2 separate regions of the Homo sapiens genome follow, and region 1 is linked to region 2. The links are contacts of gene promoters, found by promoter capture Hi-C in blood cells and fetal thymus (Javierre and others, 2016). All regions are on one chromosome and are shown on one strand. The core of a region is centred on a gene start or on the middle of the fragment in contact, and the rest is flanking DNA. Distances in the headings are between cores, read along the strand shown.

Evidence for each region. Contacts are between HindIII fragments. The CHiCAGO score rates a contact against its expected background, and 5 or more counts as called.
Region 1: a contact is called between a fragment that was not itself captured here and the fragment with the promoter of TFF2 in region 2, in 1 of 17 cell types (total CD8 T cells). The highest score is 6.9, in total CD8 T cells.

Annotation. Positions count from the first base shown.
Region 1 is chr21:42,544,049-42,548,831 of GRCh38, reverse strand. SLC37A1 (solute carrier family 37 member 1) reads right to left here. Exons shown (of 20, transcript NM_001320537.2): 9 at 1,692-1,729. Among named protein-coding and RNA genes, the nearest start is that of SLC37A1, 33 kb to the right of the region's middle. RefSeq lists enhancers at 2,502-3,037, 3,038-3,575 and a silencer at 3,328-3,551. The HindIII fragment of the contact is 7,023 bases long and covers 1-4,783 here.
Region 2 is chr21:42,347,686-42,352,422 of GRCh38, reverse strand. TFF2 (trefoil factor 2) reads left to right here and starts at 1,429. Exons shown (of 4, transcript NM_005423.5): 1 at 1,429-1,544; 2 at 2,393-2,542. The coding sequence starts at 1,466. It overlaps LOC105372815 (a long non-coding RNA gene), which reads right to left and starts at 130. Exons shown (of 3, transcript XR_937755.3): 1 at 1-130. The HindIII fragment of the contact is 5,593 bases long and covers 1-4,032 here.

The DNA of each region.
Region 1 (4,783 bases), core at 1,992-4,491, 190 kb before region 2:
AGTGATGATCCAGGCCCGAGGGGCTCGCACCCTTCTGTGAGGGTGACAGAGACCAACCAGATGGACTGGTGAGGATTTCACACGGGGCGACATGGAGCCACTGGACTGTGTTGTGCAAGGGCTGATGTGCTCTGGCGTCTGTATCAATACAGTCTCTGCAAGTGCGGTGTGAAGAAGAGATTCTGGGGAGCAAGAGTGGATCGTTCTAGGAGGCTGATGAGCAGTGGCTCGGAGGAGAGCTGACGGTGGTGACGGGGACCAGGGTGGTAGAGGCGGAGGAGGTGAGAGGGTTTCCATTCCACATCCCCTCACAGAACAGAGCAGAACTGACAGAACATGGCCAAGGATGGGGTGCGGGGCTGAAGGGAGGGGGTGTTGGGCTGGCTCCTCGGGTCTGGCCTGTCCACAGGGTGGACAGCAGCTTCCTGACTGAGATGGGGGATGCTGGGGGATCGGCTTGTGCAGGGGTAAAATCAAGAGATCTCCTCCAGTCGTGTTAAGTCTGAAGGACACTCAGACATCTCCGTGGGAAGGTTGAGTGGTGGTGAGACCTCAGATTGCGGAGCTCAGGGGTGGGTCACTCTGGGGACAGCATGGTGACTCGACATCAACGCACCTGGAGCCGCTGAAAGGCCCGAGCGCGCTCTCCTGCAGTGAGCGGGCAGACAAGGAGAGAGGAGGCCGCAGGGCAGCCTGGGGGCACCCCCACATCTGGGGTCTGACACTCGGCACAGACGTGACTAACATGTTAGCCCGGGTAGGGGAGCCTTTCCCAGAGGGAGGGAAGAGAGCTGACCCCCAGAGGGAGGGAAGCATTGGGTCAGACGCGGGCGACGGGCCCAGCAGGGTGAGGCCAGAGAGCTGACCACCCTATGTGTCCGGGTGACGTTGCTGGGATCTGATGGGCTGTTCCCGTGAGGTGGCGGTGGCCTGCAGACAGGAGGGGTGTCATGCCAGTGGACATGGGGAGCGGGGCGGCTGGGAGCAGGCATGAGGGCCAGAGGGACTTTCTTCCAAGACAGCCACCAATACTACATGAGTGTGCCAGGAATGGTATTTGGGGCGGGGGGTGTGTCTGCGGGAGTCAAGCCCTGGGCCATGAGAGGGAGGGGACCGGTACCGCGGGAGGGCTGGCCTTAGCCAGGTGGGAAAGTGGCCAGTGGTGACTGGCTGCGGGTGGAGGCAGCTAGGGCAGGGCTCATTCATGGCAGCCAACGTGGTCAGCAATCCTGCCTGCAGGGCCTACGCTGGCTGAGCTGGGCAGGGGTACAGAAGAGAAGGAATGGCGTGCTGGGCAGACCTCTCGGCCACCTGAGACGTGCAGCCACCAACTTAAGTGATGGCAGGCAGCTGACACGTGCGTTTTTCCCCGTCACACTGAGGCCCCTGGGGAAACCAGGAGGTCTCCACTCCTGAGGAGGCCTGGCCAGGGCCCAGCCTTTGGTTCCCCTTAGCATGAAGTCCTTCATCTGGACAGCATTGAACCTCTTGTCTGGGTTTTGCTGATAAGGTTATTATCAGCGAAACCCAAAACAGAATATTCTCTATTCCTAGAACTGCCAATGTTTTGAGGGTGGGACTTCTGTCTACCCTGTGTGTTTCTGTCTGACACCGCACAGGCAGGAGCAGGCTGGGGAAGTGGTCAGAACCGCACACTGTTCTAGAAAAGGACAAGAAAACAGGGTCCTTACCGTCACCAGGGTGGAGGAGCACCTGACGTCGTTCGGATCTGAAAGAGCAAACATGAGTGAGGCTGAGCAGGTCCACCACCATGGCAATGCCAAGTAAGCTACGTAACCCGAGGACAGGGCAACACGGGAGCACCGGGTGTGAAACTGGACTGTATGCAGGATTCACATTAAATGAGTGGATTTGAGCTGCTCTTGCCACAAAAACAAAAGCGGGCAGCTGTGAGTTGCGATGGCTATGTTAACTTGCTTCGCTTTACTAGTAACCTTTTTACTATCTCTATGTATCTGTAACACCATGTTGCATACCTTAAATATACACAATAAAATTTAATAAAACACAAGATGCCATCTTATACCTTTACTAAATTGGCATTCGTTTCAGAAAAAAGCCATCGCCATAGCATGCCAGGTGAGGGCAAGGGCACAGCTTGGCTGTCCCACCAGTGACTCCCGCACACGCCCCGGCCTGTCCCCAGTCACTCGGCCTGGCAGCCCACTTGTGTGCAAGGGGGGTATGGCAGATCACCGCCAGCCAGTGCCAACACTGTGAACGTGAACGCTACTTTAAATATGGAAAATACTTCCCAGCGTGGCCAATAATCACAAGCAGAGCATGCGGACGCTGTGTGGACAAGCCCACGACTCTCATTCAGAGGACAAGCCCCAGAAGAAAAGCAAAACCAGGAAAAGCACATCAGGGGAGCGAGGCTGGAAGAATGTCTGTAATGAGGTATTTCATGTTATGAAATTCATTAGAAATAAAAATGAGTGGAGATAAAACATCTATCTTGATATGGAACAAACATCTTTGTGTAAATGCAAGGAAGGGAGGAAACTTGAAAAGGAACAGAACCAGAAGTGAGGCTTCAGCGTGTCCTTTACAGACACCAGCAACCTGCCCCGAGCAATGCGGGAACCCAGAGTCAGACCCCAGGCCTCTAGGTGCTGCGGGAAACCAGCCCTACTGCTTCTCGCTCCACCTCTGCAGCCCCCTCTGACTACCAAGCACCTTGGTCTCTTTATCACCTTGGATGAAACTGGTTACTGCCTTGCAACCCAAACTGAGCTACAGGGCTGCAGGCTCCCCACAGCCAAGTCCATTCCCATACAACACAGGGTGACATCATAGAGGGACATGCAGCTGCCGAGCACACTCCTGCTGGCCTCGAGGCCAGCATCAAACCTCTTGTCTGGGTTTTGTTGATAAGGTTATTATCAACATGCCGTAGGGCCAGGTGGGTCTGCACCCAGAGGTCCGTGGCTGGCTGTGGGGTGCGTCGCCCTCCTGTCCTGGGCACAGCCCATAGGGCGAGGCCACTGACCAAGGACACATGGTCGGCATGTTGGGCAGTCCCAATGGTCCACCTGTGATGTATGGTCACCAATTTAAAGGACATCAGCCAACTCACCCCATCGGTATCCACTCACAGTGTGATGCCCCCAGGGGTAAGCCAGGGGCTTCCCCTGATATGGCTCTTCCTGGACTTTCACCTTCAGGGACTTGGGCACACACGTCCCTTGGCTGGGACACATTTGAGAACAGCTTCAGAAAGGAGACTCAGAGAGGCCTGAGAAAGGAGCAGGGGACGCCCTGTCCTTTGGGGCTCACCCTGGGCAGGAGACAAGAGTGAAGGAGCAGCAGAGAAAGCCACATCCTCTGTTGACCGCAAGAATGGCACATCTGATGCCTTTAGTACCTGCCCAGGATCAGTGATTCGGGACAAGGAGGGGCAGAAACAAACCAAGGGGCACTTGATGTTTCCTCCCTATCTGCAAAGAGCTCCTGTTCTCAGACTCAGCATCCAGCCACTGTTGTCACAGCTGGGTCTCATCATTCAGACACAGTGCACCTCCCAGGCACAAGGGGAAAGAGTGTCAGAAAGATTCCCTGGGCAGGAGGTTCTGGTAGTTTGGTTTTGTTTGGCTAGAGATGAAGCATGCAGCCTTCCTGTAGGTGAGTGGGCCTGTGGCCAGAGGACCCAGGGACAGGGGGCATCTGGCTCATTGCTATCTGCCCAAATTGGATCAGGGAGGCTTATTCACAAGAGCTGAGCTCTCTCTGCTTACAGAGACAAACATCAACATAGGGCCGTGAATGCCTGGAGCGGGTGCTGAGGTCCCGGCCATTGAGCAAGCTCCTTTCCCTTCCACATGTCCTTTTCTCCCCAGAGCCAGCCCCTTTCCAGTTAAGGAAGAGAACAGAAGACCCCATGGACTCTACCCTCAGGCAGGAGACACCCAGGGGCCCCTGTGCGCTAACAAAGAGAGGCACATTGTTCTCCGGGTGGCTGGTGTCTCAAACACTTGGAGCGCAGGGGCACAGAACTCCAGGTTCTAGGAACCAGAGCGGAAGAAAACAGGTGGTGGAAATGGCCTTTCTCAGAACTGCAGTGACACACCAGCCAGAGCTGAAAGCCACATGCTGGCCCACTGGGAGGGATCCAGACCCCCACCCATCCCAGGAGGCCCCTGCTCAGGCTGTTTGGGGTGTGGCCGAAGGCTTACTCAGCCTCTGCAGAAGCGGGGAAAGGGGAGCGGAGTGCAGCCCGGGGCCCCCACTTTTTGCTCACACCAATGGGTGTGTCTGGACATTCCTCATCTGAATGTTTATTTCCATTTTCACCAACACAGAAGCATGGGGTGAGAGTCTCCAAACTCACAGTGTGGCCAGATGATGGTTACCTTAAAAATTAAAAGGTTAGCTTTTGCAAGACAAAAAAAGTGAGCGACTAAATGGAATATGGATGAACTTTTGCATGCAGAGCTGAAGTGATCAGCAATGCCCAGTGTGGCTGGAGGGAGCTGGCTCTGAGTGTCCCTACCTGGCAGGCAGCATGAGGGAGCTGTCTCCTGCCATATGGTTTAAACTCAGTCAAAGAACTAAGAGTTGAGTACAGCTTATCAGAATGGCTTGCGGGATTCGAGCCCCTGTCGTGTGACCGCCAGGGCCACCCGGGCATCTCTATTCTTGCTGTAACTGTCCTGAATCTTCTCAGCACCAGAGCCTGCTGGATCTCTACTTCAGAAATGAATTTCAAATTCAATTAAATAAAGAGTTTGCTATTGAATCTGAAATGGAATAAGAGATTTGA
Region 2 (4,737 bases), core at 180-2,679:
CAGAGGAGCCCTGGAGGATGGAGCCTGGAGGACGGGGGCCTGGAGAATGAGGGTCTGGAGGACGAGGGTCTGGAGGAACAGGGGCCTGGAGGACGAGGGTCTGGAGGAAGAGGGCCTGGAGGACAGGGGCCTGAAAGATGGGGGCCTGGAGGATGAGGGTCTGGAGGATGAGGGTCTGGAGGAGCAGGGGCCTGGAGGATGAGGGCCTGGAGGACAAGAGCCTGGAGGACAGGGGCCTGAAAGATGGGGGCCTGGAGGATGGGGCCTGGAGGATGGGGGCCTGGAGGACGGGGGCCTGGAGGATGATGGCCTGAAGGATGAAACCTGGAGGATGGAGCCTGGAGGATGGAGCCTGGAGGATGAGGGCCTAGAGGATGGGGGCCTGGAGGACAGGGGCCTAGAGGATGGAGCCCTGGAGAATGGGGGCCTGGAGGATGGAGCCTGGGGGACGAGGGCCTGGAGGATGGGGGCCTGGAGTATGGGGCCTGCTCTCCAGACCCTGAGGACAGCCCCGTGGTGGACCAAGGATTTTGGGTTTCCTGCGTCTCTGGGCCCCTGACTGCTCAACCATCAGAAACAGACTGGCAACCCCCTGTCATTTCCCTGGCGTGGGGAACTTCGGGTCCCCTCTGTCCTTCCCACCACACTTTTCCCTCTTTCTTTCCGGGTGTCTACTCTCTGGCTTCTGTCTTCTCTGTCAGGTCCACAGAATCCTTCTCCAGCACATCCTACCCCAGGAAGGCCATGGGCTGGGTCCCAGGTGCCATCTTTCAGAAGATGTAGAGCATTCCCATGGAACAAAAATAACCCATTTCAGGGGTTGGCTGAAAATGAACTTATTAAAACCTGCCTGTCACAGGCTACTCCGCTGACCCTGTCAGCCTCATCTCCATGGAGAGCAGCCCCTCCTGCTGAAGATGGGACAAAGGGCATCGTGCTGCGGTTGGGGAGGCTCTAACCACAGCCCTGGGAGCAGTCTCTTACCTCCTCTGAGATGCTTCCCTTCCTCAGGGAGGGGACTTTTCCATGCTATCTGCTGGCCTGTACATTTTCCCCAGTAAACTTGGCCCTAATATTTTCTAAATTCCTGTGGTCCCTGCCCACTCTATCAATAGAAATGCATAGCTTATCCCTTCCTGGGTGTGACCCTGTGTGTGCCCAGCCCCAGACCTGCACGTGGCCGGTTTTCCACGCTGGCAGCCTGGCATGACCCAACTCTCTGTCCAGGGCAGGAAGAGGTATCACCGAGCAGGGAGAGAGTCACCCTGGCCCGGAAGCCTCGCCTGCACAGGGCACAGCTGCCTCTTGCCTCCTCTTCGCCTCCACGGTGGAAGGGCTGGGGCCACGGGGCAGAGAAGAAAGGTTATCTCTGCTTGTTGGACAAACAGAGGGGAGATTATAAAACATACCCGGCAGTGGACACCATGCATTCTGCAAGCCACCCTGGGGTGCAGCTGAGCTAGACATGGGACGGCGAGACGCCCAGCTCCTGGCAGCGCTCCTCGTCCTGGGGCTATGTGCCCTGGCGGGGAGTGAGAAACCCTGTAAGTGAAGGAGAGGGTCTTTTTATGTGCTTTCTTTATTTCTCTTAAAGAAAAAAAAAAAGCACAACCATAAATTAACTTGAGAGGGGGAATGGCTATAAAGGCATCTGGCAATGTGTGTTGTTCACATGGGATTTGCCACTGCTCAGGAGGGTGGCTCCAAGAAGGGCCTCCCTCCTAGGGAAAGGCTGAGTGACGGCAGGTGTCAGCGGGCCCCGTGTCGGGCCAGGAGGGCATTCCCACCAAGGGTCCTTGGAGTCCCAGAGCACTCACCTCTCGCCTGGATCTTGGCCTTGGGTCCATCTGTTCACCCTCCTCTAGGAGGGTTTTGTTTTTGTTTTTTTCCGAGACAGGATCTGGCTTTGCCGCCCAGGCAGGAGTGCAGTGGTGTGATCTTGGCTCACTGCAACCTCTGCCTCCCAGGCTCAAGTGATCCTCCCACCTCAGCCGCCTGAGTAGCTGAAACCACAGTTGTGGACCATCATGCCCGGCCAATTTTTTTTTTTGTATTGTTTGTAGAGATGGGGTTTCGACATGTTGCCCAGGATGGTCTTGAACTCCTGAGCTCAAGCAATCTGCCCGCCTCGGCTTCCTAAAGTGCTGGGATTATAGGTATGAGCCACCATGCCTGGCTTTTTTTTTTTTTTCCTTTTAAACTAATATAACAATTTCAGCAAAGCCCTATCGGCTTCTCAGGAGGAAACCGCATTGCTTAAATATGGGCAAGATAAGACTTTGTGTTTCTCTATGTGGCAACAAGACAGTAGAGGCATCCCCTAGAACCTCTGAGAGAAGGAGCAGTGTGGTCTGGGGTACCAGGGTGGGGCCGACTGAGGGTCTTTCCACAGCCCCCTGCCAGTGCTCCAGGCTGAGCCCCCATAACAGGACGAACTGCGGCTTCCCTGGAATCACCAGTGACCAGTGTTTTGACAATGGATGCTGTTTCGACTCCAGTGTCACTGGGGTCCCCTGGTGTTTCCACCCCCTCCCAAAGCAAGGTAATCTTCCAGGGAATCTTCCTGGGCCAGCAGCTGGCAACCCAGGACCCAGCTTCACAGGCGGAGCCCAGAGCAGGGGCCGGAGGAGGCCCAGTTGCTAGTCTAGGGTTAGCCTGGGTGGGTTAGTCTCGAGCTAGCCCCGGTTGGTTAGTCTGGGGCTAGCCCAGGTTGGTTAGTCTAGAGCTAGCCCAGGTTGGTTAGTCTGGGGCTAGCCCAGGTTGGTTAGTCTGGGGCTAGCCCAGGTTGGTTAGTCTAGGGCTAGTGTAGGCTAGTTAGTCTAAGGCTAGCCCAGGTTGGTTAGTTTGGAGCTAGCGCAGGTTGGTTAGTCTGGGGCTAGTAGCCCAGGTTGGTTAGCCTGGAGCTAGCCCAGGTTGGTTAGTCTAGGGCTAGCGTAGGCTGGTTAGTCTGGGGCTAGCCCAGGTTGGTTAGTCTGGAGCTAGCCCAGGTTGGTTAGTCTGGGGCTAGTAGCCCAGGTTGGTTAGTCTGGGGCTAGCCCAGGTTGGTTAGTCTAGGGCTAGTGTAGGCTAGTTAGTCTAGGGCTAGCCCAGGTTAGTTAGTTTGGAGCTAGCACAGGTTGATTAGTCTGGGGCTAGTAGCCTAGGTTGGTTAGTCTGGAGCTAGCCCAAGTTGGTTAGTCTAGGGCTAGCATAGGCTGGTTAGTCTGGGGCTAGTAGCCTAGGTTTGTTAGTCTGGAGCTAGCCCAGGTTGGTTAGTCTAGGGCTAGCGTAGGCTGGTTAGTCTAGGGCTAGCCCAGGTTGGTTAATCGGAGCTAGCCCAGGTTGGTTAGTCTGGAGCTAGCCCAGGTTGGTTAGTCTGAGGCTAGTAGCCCAGGTTGGTTAGTCTGGGGCTAGCCCAGGTTTGTTAGTCTGGAGCTAGCCCAGGTTGTTTAGTCTGGAGCTAGCCCAGGTTGGTTAGTCTGGGACTAGCCTGGACTGCTAGTCTAGAGGTAGCCTAGAGGACTGCTAGTCTAGAGGTAGTCTAGGGCTAGCCCAGGTTGGTTAGTCTGGGGCTAGCCCATGTTGGTTAGTCTTAGACTAGCCTGGACTGCTAGTCTAGAGGTAGCCCAGGTTGTTTAGTCTGGTACTAGCCTGGACTGTTAGTCTAGAGGTAGCCCAGGTTGGTTAGGTTGGTTAGTCTGGGACTAGTCTGGACTGTTAGTCTAGAGGTAGCCCAGGTTGGTTAGTCTGGGACTAGCCTGGACTGTTAGTCTAGAGGTAGCCCAGATTGGTTAGTCTGGGACTAGTCTGGACTGCTAGTCTAGAGGTAGCCCAGGTTGGTTAGCCTGGGGCCAGCCTGGACTGTTAGTCTAGAGGTAACCCAGGTCAGCCAACAGTGAGATGAAAATTTCCCACCTACCCTGTTTCTACACTGTTAGTTCTTTCAACAGACATGTGTGTGTGGAGCCATCAGTTTTACTTTAGTTGAGAAAAAAATATATATATATATAGTAGGTCTCCTCTAGTTTTTGAAGTGTGACTTCTGAAGAAGCTTCCATGGGGAAATGAAGGTATTTAATAGGACAGCAGTAACATAAGGGCTGACAGCCCTCAAATGTTAGGGAAGGAAGTGAAGCCTTCTAGGGTTCTTTGGGAGTGAGTTTTATGTTAGTGCACGGGATCAGGACCCAAGTTGTAACGCCGACGAGTGCTCAAAGGAAGGTTGTGTGTGTGTCGTGCACCTGTGTGCGTGGAACCAGGCACGTCCTCTGGAGAAGGAGGATTCATCCCCAAGATTGTTGCTGGGAGGCTTGCTGGGCCCCGCAGGGAAACCAGGCAGATGGTGGATTGTTCACGAGCGCCCACTGAATGGCAGTGTCTTTGGGAATCAATACCATGTCCAAACGCTTTCCATCTTACCAAGGTGCCCACAAACCTTTTCTCATCTTGGCCCGGGGGACCACCCCATTTACTGAGAACACTGAGTCCCGAGAGGCAAAATGATTTCCCCAAGGCGGGGGACTCCAGAGCTTCTGACTGTGACCACCCCACATGGGCCCCACCTTCGCGGAGGACAGGCCAGCCAAGCGTCGCTGGGGCCGACACTTCCACAGTCCCCGGGGGAGGCGGTCCCAGGGGCCGACACTTCCACAGTCCCCGGGGGAGGCCGTCCCGGGGGATGCTGCCCCAGGCAGCACCTCATGATCCACGGAGGCTGCAAATCAGCGCTGCTCTCAGAGGAGGAAGGGGTGGAGCTTT